Regions from separate parts of the Homo sapiens genome. Here region 1 is linked to region 2. The links are contacts of gene promoters, found by promoter capture Hi-C in blood cells and fetal thymus (Javierre and others, 2016). All regions are on one chromosome and are shown on one strand. Each heading gives the region's core, a stretch centred on a gene start or on the middle of the fragment in contact. The rest is flanking DNA. Distances are from core to core; before and after follow the strand shown.

Region 1 (6,672 bases), core at 3,504-6,003, 65 kb after region 2:
AAAGTAAGCACTTTGTTTGTGTCAGGTACTGTGTTTGGTGTTGGGATATAGGAGTCAGCAAGACAGACAAGCTCCCTGCTCTCGTGAAGCTTTTCCCAGGCGACTTAGAAGTTAATGGGGGAGGGGGAAGAGCAGTCCTGGGACAGGGAACCGCCCGAGCGAAGGTCCTGAGGTTGGAAGGGGCTTGGCACATTTCAGAAACAGAAGGAAGCCTAGCTCGGAGGATGGATGTGGTGTCCCTAGGGATAATGGTGGAGATAGGCAGCGATGGTATTCCTTAGCACCTTGGAGGTCAGAGTAAGTAGTTTGAGTTCTATCCTGGGGGCAACAGGGTTTCAAACAGGGATGGTGGGATAGGCAGATTATACTTTAGAAGGATCTCCTGGCCAGGCAACCTGGCTCACACTTGTAATCCCAACACTTTGGGAAGCTGAGGCAGGAGGATCACTTGAATTCAGGAGTTTGAGACCAGCCTGGGCAACATGGTGAAACCCCATCTCTACAAAAAATACAAAACTTGGCCGGGCGTGGTGGCTCACACCTGTAATCCTAGCACTTTGGGAGGCCGAGGCAGGCGGATCACCTGAGGTCAGGAATTCCAGACAAGCCTGGCCAACATGGTGAAACCCGGTCTCTACTAAAAATACCAAAATTAGCTGGGCATGGTGGCGGATGCCTGTAACCCCAGCTACTCAAGAGACTGAGCAGAACTGCCTCCCAGGTTCAAGCGATTCTCCTGCCTCAGCCTCCCGAGTAGCTGGGATTACAGGCATGTGCCACCAAGCCCGTTTAATTTTTGTATTTTTAGTAGAGACAGGGTTTCGCCATGTGGGCCAGGCTGGTCTTGAACTCCTGACGTCAGGTGATCCGCCCGCCTCGGCCTCCCAAAGTGCTGGGATTACAGGCGTGAGCCACTCTGCGCCTGGCCGAGGTCTTTCTCTCAAAGCGATCACTAACCTGGCGCCACTGAACTCCAGCCTGGGCGACAGAGACCCTGTCTCTAAAGAAATTATTAAAAAAAAAAAAAAAAAAAAAAAAGGAGTCCTTGAGGCCCAGGAAGGGTCCTCTCCAGCCCTCGCACAAGCTCCACCTCCCCTCCTCCTCCAAGGATCCTGAGACCAGACAGCCACGTATAAGGTGGCGGGCGTGACTCCTCTGGCCAGGCTCGTGGGCGGCGCCCGCACATGCGGAGCCTGCCACCCACTGGGCGAGAGCGGTACTGCAGACGCGGGTGTCAAGAGTCGCCCCACCCGGTGGCTTTGCTGTAAATGTTCACTGAGCGCCTTTTCTGTTCCAGGCAGAAGGGGTCCCTGCCCTCATGTGGCTTACAATCTAATGGAACTAATACCAGCAACGGAAGTGCCGCTAGCGACTTGATTAAAACTTTTTTTTTTTTTTTTGAGACGGAGTTTCGCTCTTGCTGCCCAGGCTGGAGTACAATGGCGCAATCTCGGCTCACTGCAACCTCCGCCTCCCGGGCTCAAGCGATTCTTCTCAGCCTACTGAGTAGCTGGGACTACAGGCGCCCGCCACCACGCCGGGATAGTTTTTTTGTATTTTTAGTAGAGACGGGGTTTCACCGTGTTAGCCAGGATGGTCTCATCTCCTGACCTCGTGATCCACCCGACTCGGCCTCCCAAAGTGCTGGGATGAGAGGCGTGAACCACGGCGCCAGGCCAATTTTTGTGTTTTTAGTAGAGACAGGGTTTCATCATATTAGTCACAGGCTGGTATCGAGCTCCTGACCTCAGGTGATCCACCCACCTCGGCCTCCTAAAGTGCTGGGATTCCAGGTGTGAGTCACCATGCCTGACCTTTTTAAAATTTCTTTACAGCAATGCAAGAAAAAACTTTTTTTTTTTTTAATAGAGATGGGATCTCCCTATGTTGCCCAGGCTGGTCTTAAAGTCCTGGAATCAAGCAATCCTCCTGCCTCAGCCTCCCAAAATGTTCTGATTACAGGCATGAGCCACCACGCCTAGCCTATAGCAACTTTATAATCTGCTTTTTGATGAAAGCTTTTGTTCTTATAATACAAGTACTATACGTTCATGGTAGAAAATTTAAAAAGAAAATTTAAAGCCCAGACATAACTTCTGTCAACATGTGAGTGTAGCCCTTACGGAATTGTCGTGTGTTTTACAAAAATAGAAGTATACATTTAATATTTTGTAGCCTGCTTTCTTGTTTTTAACAGCTTTATTGAGATATAATGTAAGAGGGACCGATATCAATACATTCCAATATACCACCTTTTCACATACAATATATCTGCTTTGTTTTAAACTTAATGTAATAGTGGTTTATTAATAATAATATAACACAAATCACTGCTATAGGTTGAGGAAAGTGCTAAGTGCTTTACACACATCATCATGTTCAGTTCTCCCAAAAACCCTAACAGTAGGTACTATTATTTTCCTCATTCTGCAGATGAAGAAACTGAAGCATAAAATTACTTGTCCAGCAATAGCAGCAGAACCTGGATTTATTTTTATATTTTAAGATAGGGTTTTGGCTGGGTGTGGTGGCTCACGCCTGTAATCCCAGCATTTTGGGAGGCCGAGGCAGGTGGATCACGAGGTCAGGAGTTCGAGACCAGCCTGGCCAAGATGGTGAAACCCCGTCTCTACTAAAAATACAAAAATTAGCCAGGCAAGTTGGCGGGTGCCTGTAATCCCAGCCACTCGGGAGGCTGAGGCAGGAGAATCGCGTGAACCAGGGAGGCAGAGGTTGCAGTGAGCTGAGATTGTGCCACTGCACTCCAGCCTGGGTGACAGAGTGAGACTCCGTCTCAAAAAAAAAAAAAAAGATAGGGTCTCACTCTGTTGCCCAGGATGGAGTGCAGTGGCATGACCTTGGCTCACTGCAACCTCTACTTCCTGGACTCAAGCAATCCTCCACCTCAGCCTCGCAAGTAGCTGAGATTACAGGCAGGCATCACCATGCCCAGCTAATTTCTGTATTTTTTGTAGAGATAGGGGTTCGCCATGTTGCCTAGGTTGGTCTTGAACTCCAGGGTTCAAGTGATCCTCCTATCTCAGCCTCCCAAAGTGCTGAGACTATAGGTGTGAGCCACCTCACCCAGCCAGAGGTGGACTTAAATCCAGCTTTGTCTGAGAACCTGAGTTCTTAACCATTTTGTTATGCCTGGCCTGTGCCAGGCATTGAGAGAATTTAGAGGAATCCGAAAAAAAAAGGGGTCTCCTGGCCGGGCGCAGTGGCTCACGCCTGTAATCCCAGCACTTTGGGAGGCCGAGGTGGGCAGATCACCTGAGGTCAGGAGTTCGAGACCAGCCTGGCCAACGTGGTGAAACCCCATCTCTACTAAAAATACAAAAATTAGCCGGGTGTGGTGGCAGATGCCTGTAATTCCAGCTACTCAGAAGGCTGAGGCAGGAGAATTGCTTGAACCCAGGAGGCGGAGGTTGTAGTGAGTCGAGATCGTGTCACTACACTACAGCCTGGGTGACAGAGCAAGACTCTGTCTTAAAAAAAAAAAAAAAAGGTTAGGGGGTCTCCTGGGGCCTGAAGTGGAATGAGGAAGTGGAATAGTCATCATAAGAGGTACAGTGGGCTGAACATCACTGGGGGACCAGAGGCCAGGGTCAGGATGTAACCAGGAAAGGCTTCCTGGAAGAGGTGAGAACCGAGTGTGATGTGTGCAGACAGAGGTGGGGAACCACGTGGGGCTGGCCTAAGCAGAACCTCGGGTGTAGACGAGTGTATGAGCATCAACAGGGACCAGTAAGGAAAAATAACTGAGCACCAAATTCTATGGGGTCACAGAGATAGATGATACTGGGGGTCTGCCCTCTAAAGCTGACAATCTAGCTCGGCAGAAGGTTGAGAGGTGGGGGTAGGAACACAGAAATAAGTAATAGCTATCACTGTGCACACCCGCCCCCACGTGTCAGGCTTTCTACCTACATTGACACATTTAAGCTCACAACATCTCTGGAAGATCCAGTTATTAGCCCCATTTATGAATGAAGAAAGAAAGGCTCAGAGTAAAGCAGATTGCTCTAGGTCTTCCTAGCAGGAAGGGCTAGGGCCAAGGCTCAAACCTGGGTGGCTCAAGGTCTAAATCCAGTGTTCTAACCTGCACAGCTACGCTATTCAGCCTACCCCAGCTGGACCGCCCCCTCCCACTGCAAGGAAACCAACCCTGACACCCAGCCTTCTATGCCTTCTATGCAAACCTCTAGGTGCACTTCAGTCAGAAATCTTTTTTTTTTTTTTTGAGACGGAGTCTGGCTCTGTCGCCCAGGCTGGATCTTGGCTCACTGCAACCTCCACCTCCCAGGTTCAAGTGATTCTTGTGCTTCAGCCTCCCAGGTAGCTGGGATTATAGGTGCCCGCCACCACACCTGGCTAATTTTTTTTTAAGACGGTGTTTCACTCTTGTCGTCCAGGCTGGAGTGCAATGGCGTGATCTTGGCTCACTGCAACCTCTGCCTCCCAGGTCAAGAGATTCTCCTGCCTCAGCCTCCCAAGCAGTTGGGATTACAGATGTCTGCCACCACGTCTGGCTAATTTTTTTTTTTTTTTGTATTTTTAGTAGAGACGGGGTTTTACCATGTTGGCCAGGCTGGTCTAGAACTCCTGACCTCAGGTGATCCACCCGCCTCAGCCTCCCAAAGTGCTGGGATTACAGGTGTGAGTCACAGCGCCTGGCCTTTTTTTTTTTTTTTTTTTTTTTGACAGAGTCTCCTCTGTTGCCCAGGCTGGAGTGCAGTAGTGCAATCATGTCTCACTGCAAGCTCTGCCTCCTGGGTTCAAGCGATTCTCATGCCTCAGCTTCCCAAGTAGCTGGGATTACAGGTGTGTGTCAGCACACCCAGCTAATTTTTGTATTTTTAGTAGAGACGGGGTTTTGTCATGTTGGCCAGGCTGGTCTGAAACTCCTGACCTCAGGTGATCCGCCTGCCTTGGCCTCCCGAAGTGCTGGGATTACAGTCATGAGCCACTGCACCCAGCCTCTCTGGTGGTATCTTTTGGAAAGATATCTTTCTGGAAAACTCTTTCCATCCCAGCCCAAACTTGTCTCTGACTCACTCATTTATTTGAGGGTAGGTGACTTAGATGTCATATCCTACAGGAGGGCAGACTGACTGCCCCTCCAAAGCCAAATGCCATTTTGATCCTCTTCTATTGACCCTGTACCACCTCGATCAAGACAATTCTTTGTTTTTTTTTCTTTTATGGTCAAAAAATTTAAGACTAGTTCCAACTTGAAGTAGTTTTGTTTCAACAGATCAAGATAATTCCTTGTTTTTTTTTTTTTTGAGACAGAGTTTCACTCTTGTCACCCAGGCTGGAGTGCAATGGCACGATCTCTGCTCACTGCAACCTCCACCTCCCAGGTTCAAGCGATTCTCCTGCCTCAGCCTTCCAAGTAGCTGGGATTACAGGTGCCCACCATCACGCCCGGCTAATTTTTGTATTTTTAGTAGAGACAGGGTTTCACCATATTGGCCAGGCTGGTCTCGAACTCCTGACCTCAGGTGATCCACCTGCCTCGGCCTCCCAAAGTGCTGGGATTACAGGCATGAGCCATCGCACCTGGACTAGATCAAGACAATTCTAACAGTTAACAATTATTGAGCACTCATTTTGTGCCAGGCACTGTGCTAAGAGTGCAGTATCTCAGAGTGGTTAAACATGGAGGCTTTGGGGCCAGACTTCTAGATTTAAATTCTGGCTCTGGGTCAGGAACAGTGGCCGACACCTGTAATTCCAGAACTTTGAGAGGCTGAGGTGGGAGGATCGCTTAAACTCAGGAGTTTGAGATCAGCCTGAGCAACATAGTAAGACCCCGTCTCTAAAAAAAAAAAAATTAGCTGGATGAGGTGGTGTGCACTTGTAGTCCTAACTACTCAGGATGCTTGTTAGGTGCAGTGGCTCATGCTTGTAATCCCAGCACTTTGGGAGGCCGAGGCAGGTGAATCACTTGAGGTCAGGAGTTTGAGACCAGCCTGGCCAACGTGGTGAAGCCCCATCTCTACTAAAAAATTCACAAATTAGCCGCGTGTGGTGGCGCACGCCTGTAATCCCAGCTACTCGGGAGGCTGAGGCAGGAGAATTGCTTGAACCCAGGAGGTGGAGGTTGCAGTGAGCCAAGATTGTGCCACCACACTCCAGCTTGGGTGACAGAGCAAGACTCCATCTCAAAAAAAAAATTTGTTATACAAAGGAATGAATAAATGCATATTACATTATTACATTCCTATTGTAGAGAAGAGGAAGCATAGCTGGTGGCAAACCAGAGATTTGAACCCAGGAGTTCCTGATCCCTGTCTTGAACACTTTCTTTTTCTTTTTTTTTTAGAGATGGTGTCTTGCTATGTTGCCCAAGCTGGACTTGAACTCCTGGGCTTAACGGATCCTCTGGCCTCAGCCTCTCAAGTAGCTAGGACTACAAGCAAGCCCGGCTAGCTTAGACCCTTTGTATGGCCCCAGTGTGGGGCCTCATATACCCTTTGGCTGTGTTTGAGGACGTGTTTGACAGATTTGATGATCTTGATTGCACCCTGAAGTATAAAAACTTAGGCTACTCGAGAAAGATTTCATGCTAAATCAGGTAGTAAAGCTCTAGTAATATGATCCTAAGGTTTTGTCTTCATGAAACTGCATGACCTTAAGGCATCGGTTTCAGCTAACCTGCCCAAG
Region 2 (6,514 bases), core at 869-3,368:
CTCATTACTGCGAGCGGGAGCGGGAGCCACTGGGCAGAGATAACAGGAGCTGGGGACAGGCGGTAATTTGACAAATTCTTGGGCACAAGCAGCTATTGTTGCAGGTAAACGGGAGCCAGGGACTGACCCAAGCAGAGAGGCCCAAGGCTGGGGGACAGCAGGGAAGCATGGAGAGAAGAGATCCACACTATCCCTGCCCCCAGCAGACAGACACCCCCATCACATGGGAGTAACCCCCTCCTCTGACTTTTCTACTTTTCCATCTGCCCTGGAGCCAGCGCCCCCTGCAGGGTCTAAGACACGAAGGAGCTGTGGGACAACAGCAAAATGTTCCATGAGTTTGAATGCCAACCAAGCAGCTTCTCCTAAGATCTAGTCTTCCGAAGGGTCGTTTCCAGGCAAGCTAGAGCCTTTCTCATAAATCCCCTCCGTGGGCAAAGCAGGTCCCTGTCTTCCACACAAAGCAAGGAGCTCATTGACCAAAAGTCGGGGGAGGAGGGAAGGAGAGAGGGAGGGGGCTTCAAGGGATGCTTTGCCATTGGTCTGGATGAAGAGGGGGTGTCGCAGAGCCAAATACTAGTTAGAGTTCACAGAAGCCACCGGGTGGGTCAGTGCTACCCTGACTCACCCAATTTGGGCTGGGGGAGGGACCTAGCCCCACCCCAAGCTCTGCTCTGAGGCATCATGATTAGTACTTCTAGGGAGAGGGTGGCGGCTGCCTCTCCCCTCACCAGGACTAGGGGAGGGGGGATGTAGCATCTCATGGCAGGCCAGGGATTTTTCTCCTCCCTCTCCCCCCCAACTCTAGTGACAAAGTTTCAGAGCATGGCAGCCCTCTTACTCAGAAAAACTCCCTCCTTCCTCATGGACCCCGTCCAGCTGTCCCCTGGGGAGAGTCCTGACCCTCTCCTCCGGCAGCCTCCCTCTCCCAAAGGACCCCCGAAGCCCCGAGGGCCACTCACTGTTTTGGAGTCGAGCTCGTGCCGCGATTGCGCCAGCACTTTATCCACCCCCGCCTGGTCCATGAAAGTGACGAAGCCGAAACCCCTGCGCGCCGTAGTGAGGGAGAGGCAGATGGTTACAAGGCAGTGAGTGGCGGGTGGAGGGGGGCGAGCCGGGAGCAGGAGGAGGGGGTGAGGGGCTCACCTGGATCTCTTGGTCAGGGGGTCCCGCATCACCAGACACTCCTTCACCTCCCCGAACTGGCCGAAGTATTCGCGCAGCCCTTCTGTAACCACACACCCGCCTTCGGACCAGCCCGGGCCCCGCGCCCTTCCCCCCCCCCCGTCCTTTGCCCCCGGTGACCCCGGAGCGGCCCGGCCGCCCCCGCGCCAAGCTGCCCGCGCGTTCTCCACTGCCGCCGCCCCCCACCGCCCTCGCCCCGTTCCCGCTGAGCCTCCTGGCGCCCACCGGGGCCCCGGGAAGCCGAGGGCCGAGCTGGGCTGGAAGGGGGACGGCTCCGGCCGGGTTCCCGCCGCTCCGGGAGCAGCCTCACAAAAGTTTGAGCCGCAGGTGCGAGCGGAGTTGGCGCTGCCGCCGGCGGGTCCCGGGGGCCCAGCCCACCCCCCGATACCCCCTGAACCCCTCATCTGCTCCCCTCCACCCGCTGGGCCGGGTGCGCTCGCGGATCGCCCTGCGCTCTCGGGGTCTCCGGGCGGGGCGCGAAAGAGGGCGCGAGGGCGCCCGGGGTCAGCAGGGCGCAGGGCCGGGCTGGGGTGTCCGGGTCCGGGGCGCCGGGGGGTCCGGGGTGCCCTGCCGGACCGGCGGGCGCTCCCGGGCTCGCTCACCCTGCGTAGTCTGCCAACTGAGTCCCCCGATGAACATCTTGCTGCGGGAGGAGGAGAGACACAAAGGGCCCGCGTGAGCGCCGGGCGCCAGGGCGCAGGGGGCGCGGGCCCGGGCTCCGGGGAGGCCCGGCCGGACCCGGATCGGCCATGTTGGCGGGGCCGGGGCGGGCGCGGGCCAAGCAGGCCGGGCCGGGCCGTACCAGGGGTCGTGCGGCGAGTCCGGGGAGGCGAGGCCGGGCTGGGGCGCGTCAGTCTCCATCGGGAGCCGCGGGCGGCGCGGGCAGCGGAGCGGCGGCGGCGGCGGCGGCGGCGGCGCTCGGCGCGGGGCAGATGAGGAGCGCGGCGAAGGGGGCCGGACGGACAGGCCATGCTGCCCCCTCCCCCGACCCCGCTCGGGCGGGCGGGCGGGGACGGCCGAGGGGAGGGCCCGCCGGGGGCCGACCTGCCGGCTCCTCCCCCCGCCGCCCTGCGCGCATAAAGCCCCGCGCTCGCCCGCGAGCCCGGGCGCCCGCGGAGGCGGCGGCGCCGGGACCCCCTTCCCGCGGGGCTCCTGGGTCTCCGGGGCCGAGCGAGACCCCCGAATCCCGGTGCGGGCCGGGACCAGGGCGCGGCCGCACCCCCCACCCACCCCGGCGCGGGGGCCCGGCCGCGGGAACGCCCTCCCGGAATGAAGCGCTTCCCGGTGCCTTCAAGGTAGCTCGGTTCCGGATCGGGAACCCCCCCGGTCTTCCCTCTCAGGTCCCTGCTGTCCAGAATTGAAGAGAACCCCAATCTCCTCGGGTCGGGCGGGAGATAGCCCTAGTGCTCCCCAGTCCCCACATGCTCCATTTCCCCAGTCGGAGCGAGAAGCCGCCCTCAGAGCCCCCAGTTTCCTCCCAACCTAATTTACAGCCCCCCACCCCCACCCCAGGGCTCTAATTTAGAGCCCTCGCTCCGTTCCCAGGATCCCATATCCAGTTTGGGGGACCCACTCAGTGCCTCGCGTCCCGAGTGGGGAACCTCCATCAGCACCCCAGTAGAAACCGTATCCTCTTCCCCAATCCGTCCTCAGCCCTTGGTGTCCAAAGTGAGAGTCCCCCTTAGTTTCCCCAAATCCCTGCCGTCCACATTAGTGGACCCTATGGTCTGTTGAGAAAATCCCGCGCCCCAAGCCCGGGTTCTCAGTTTGCCGCCACCCCCACCTCCCGGTGTGAGGAGTCTCCCCTGGTTCTCTCCCTCCCTGGCCGGTTTTTGTGAGATCCATTCAGACTCCTGTCCTGATTCGGGAAACCCGGTTCCAGACACTCACCACCCCCACCACACCGAGGCTGGAGGAAAAGGCAGTGCCTCTTAGAGCCTCCTGTTTCCAGTTTAGGAGCCCAACGCCTCAGCTGTGCACCGTCCCCTCCGAATGACCCCCTTCTTTTGCAGAGGTCTAAGCTCCACCCCATCCCATTGGAAGAGCCTAAACTACCTACCCACTGCATTTGGAATGACTTCCCTCAGTCCCTCTTATTTTGAGGCTACTCCCCGTGAAGGCAAACACCTTCCTTTCTACCCCCATCTTCTGGGTCTCTGGGATCCCCCAGTACTTGCACCCAAGGCTCCTTGGAGTCACCTTACGTACCCCTAAAATTCCCTCCCTCCAGCCTGGGAACAACCCTGAGAAAGTATTCTGGTTCACCAGGGGAGCTGCGGGGCCACTCTCCTTATCCCCACCTCTCCTTATCCCCGCCTCTCCATATCCCCACCTCTCCATATTCCCACCTCTCCATATCCAAGCCTTAGGACCCTTCACTTCCCCAGCTGAAACCAGCCAAAAAAGGATCAAACCAGGAAGCTTAGGTGGCCAACACCCCTTCTCCCCATCCCTGCTGGGGGTCTCAGTGCCACACAAGCCCCTCCCTCCCAACTCACCTTCTACTCCTTCCCCCATCCCTACCTTAATCCATCCGGTGTAATCCAGTGACAACCCATGTTGACAAGCCCTTTGCTGTTCACCTTCACATTCCATCCTGAATTCAACACCTTTTATTCCTGGGCATCATAACTCTGACCTCTGGAAGGGTGCCCATCCCCCTCTTGATAGCCCTCCTTCCCTCTCCCCACCCCAACCATCAGGCAGAGAAGAAAGTGAGAGACTTACAGTAATGGTTTCCTTGGGGACCTTCTGGGAATGCTCAGCAGGTATATCCTGCCACCCTGTGAGCATAACACTAGAAACAAACTTGCTTTTTCCTGTTTGTGTCCCCTACTCTGCCCCACAGTTTCTCAGCATCCCCTGGACTGGGGACTGGAGGGCCACCCACACAAGGCATTTCTTACCATTCCGACACAAAAGCATTCCAGTTTGTGTTGTAGCAGAGACACAGATGAGGGTGAGCAGGTAGCCTCTGCGGTATTAGGGAGGTGACTCTTCTTAGGTCTGAACTTAAAAAGGGTCATTGGAGAGGTGCGGGGAGTAGGGATCTTCCAGTGTTCCTGGACTTTGGTTTGTGTGCTGGTGCTGCTGGGCAGATGAGCTTGAAGGATAGGAAATGGGTCCTTTCCGGCAGTGGCGACCTACCCACGAGAACATGCCTCTCGACAGGGATCTCCTTCATCCTTCTCCAGAAGAGAAGAGGAAACAGAAGAAGAAACGCCTGGTGCAGAGTCCCGATTCCTACTTCATGGATATGACATGCCCAGGATGCTATAAAATCACCATGGTCTGTAGCCATGCACAAACGGTAGTTTTGTGTGTTGCCTGCTCCACTGTTCTCTGCCAGCCTACAGGAGGAAAAGGAAGGCTACAGAAGGATGTTCCTTCAGGAGGAAGCAGCACCCAAAGCACTCTGAATCAAGATGAGTGGGAAACCATCTCAATAAACACATTTTGGATTAAAAAAAAAAAAGGAAATGGGTAAAGGCATCTGTTCAGAGTCAGCCAATGCTGTGTAAGAAGTAGCTTGAGATAGGATCCATGTATTAGCATATTCATTCAGAATCTGAGGAGGAAGCGTCTACCTCTTTTGGTCAGTAGCTTGTTTGTATCACAGTAACATGGGTTAGACTTAGACAAATCCTCTTTCAGTGCAGGTGTATCTCAGCTGCAGCAGCTTCAGTCCACTTTGTTCACAATAGGGGCGACAAGCCCTTCTAGAGGTAGCCCTCACAGGACAATGCAGTTGTAAACTCATGATCCTCATAGTAAATTGAGGATCTCAGTGGTATTAAGGAAAAATGATCTTTAGAGCAACAGGCCCAGACTTCAGAATTAAGAGATTAGAGGATGTGGTTCCAGCTCTTTTTCTCTGGTACTACACACACAGAACATCACTCAAAGAATAAAAGAAGAATTTGCTTTATAGTTTTTAAAAAATCCTCTTGAGAAAGACAGTGGGCAAATGATATTATGCAACTTGGCACAGGTATTTACCGAACATCTTCTATGTACTAGACACTGTCCTAGGTGTTGTAGTCCCAGCAGCTGCCTTTGTAAAGCTTGCATTCTAGAGATGAGAGTCATACAAGTAAATGAATGAATGAATGAGTCAATGAATGAATGAGTGAATGAATGAATAAACAATAGATAAATAAATGGTGTGTTCAGTTAGATGTTGTAGGTGCCACAGAGAAGGAAGGGTGATAGGGAGGGTGGGTACTATTGGGAAGAAGGTGAGATGAAATTTTATATATATATATATTTTTGAGATGGAGTCTTGCTCTGTCACCCAGGCTGCAGTGCAGTGGCATGATCTCGGCTCACTGCAATCTCTGCCTCTTGGATTCAAGTGATTCTCCTGCCTCAGCCTCCCCAGTAGCTGGGGTTACAGGCATCCACCATCACTCCTGACTAATTTTTTGTATTTTTAGTAGAGATGGGGTTTCGCCGTGTTGGCCAGGCTGGTCTTGAACGCCTGACCTCAGGTGATCTGCCCACCTCTGCCCTTGAAAGTGTTGGGATTACAGGCGTGAGCCACCACACCTGGCCTGAGATGCAATTTTAAATCAACAACATTCTCATGGGGAGGGAGACGTTTTAGCAAAGACTTGAAGGAGATGAGGTAAATGAGTCTACTCTATGATACAGAACTCTCATTTAAGCAGAATGTCTGCATCTCTTAAGTACAATGATAATTAACGTTCATATTTTGACTTTCACTACTCTAAAACTGTAGGTCAAGTGGACTAGGGGTGGATGGGGGCTCAGAAAATGGCAGTTTTTGAACAGACACCTCTATCAGATGAGAAGGCTGAGAGCTGAGGGTTTTCCTTGGCCACTCTTGGAGAAACACAGCTTTAAGATATATTGAAGAGCCTTTGAGAATGACAACAACAAAATTAAAGATTAAATTATAGTCCATGTGGTTTTAGCGTGCAGAGTATTTCACAGTGTTCTCATTCTTTGAAAATGCAATATTGGCCGGGCGCAGTGATTCACGCCTGTAATCCCAGCACTTTGGGAGGCCGAGGTGGGTAGATCACGAGGTCAGGAGTTCGAGACCACCTGGCCAACATGGTGAAACCCGGTCTCTACTAAAAATACAAAAATTAGCCTGGCGTGGTGGCGCACGCCTGTAATCCCAGCTACTGGGGAGACTGAGGCAGGAGAATTGCTTGAACTCAGGAGACGGAGGTTGAAGTGAGCTAAGATTGCACCACTGCACTCCAGCCTGGGTGACAGAATGAGACTCCGTCTCAGAAAAAAAAAGAACAAAAGAAAATGCAATATCCAAGCAAAGCCCTGAATTACCTGGAACTTCCCA

What was found. Contacts are between HindIII fragments. The CHiCAGO score rates a contact against its expected background, and 5 or more counts as called.
Region 1: a contact is called between a fragment that was not itself captured here and the fragment with the promoter of MSI1 in region 2, in 9 of 17 cell types (megakaryocytes, endothelial precursors, M2 macrophages and 6 more). The highest score is 18.1, in megakaryocytes.

What each region holds. Positions count from the first base shown.
Region 1 is chr12:120,429,423-120,436,094 of GRCh38, forward strand. No RefSeq gene overlaps it. Among named protein-coding and RNA genes, the nearest start is that of COX6A1, 5.4 kb to the right of the region's middle. RefSeq lists a silencer at 4,070-4,270. The HindIII fragment of the contact is 5,474 bases long and covers 2,017-6,672 here.
Region 2 is chr12:120,367,046-120,373,559 of GRCh38, forward strand. It overlaps MSI1 (musashi RNA binding protein 1), which reads right to left and starts at 2,119. Exons shown (of 15, transcript NM_002442.4): 1 at 1,988-2,119; 2 at 1,788-1,828; 3 at 1,147-1,228; 4 at 963-1,047. The coding sequence starts at 2,046. It also overlaps the pseudogene RPS27P25. The HindIII fragment of the contact is 14,859 bases long and covers 1-3,604 here.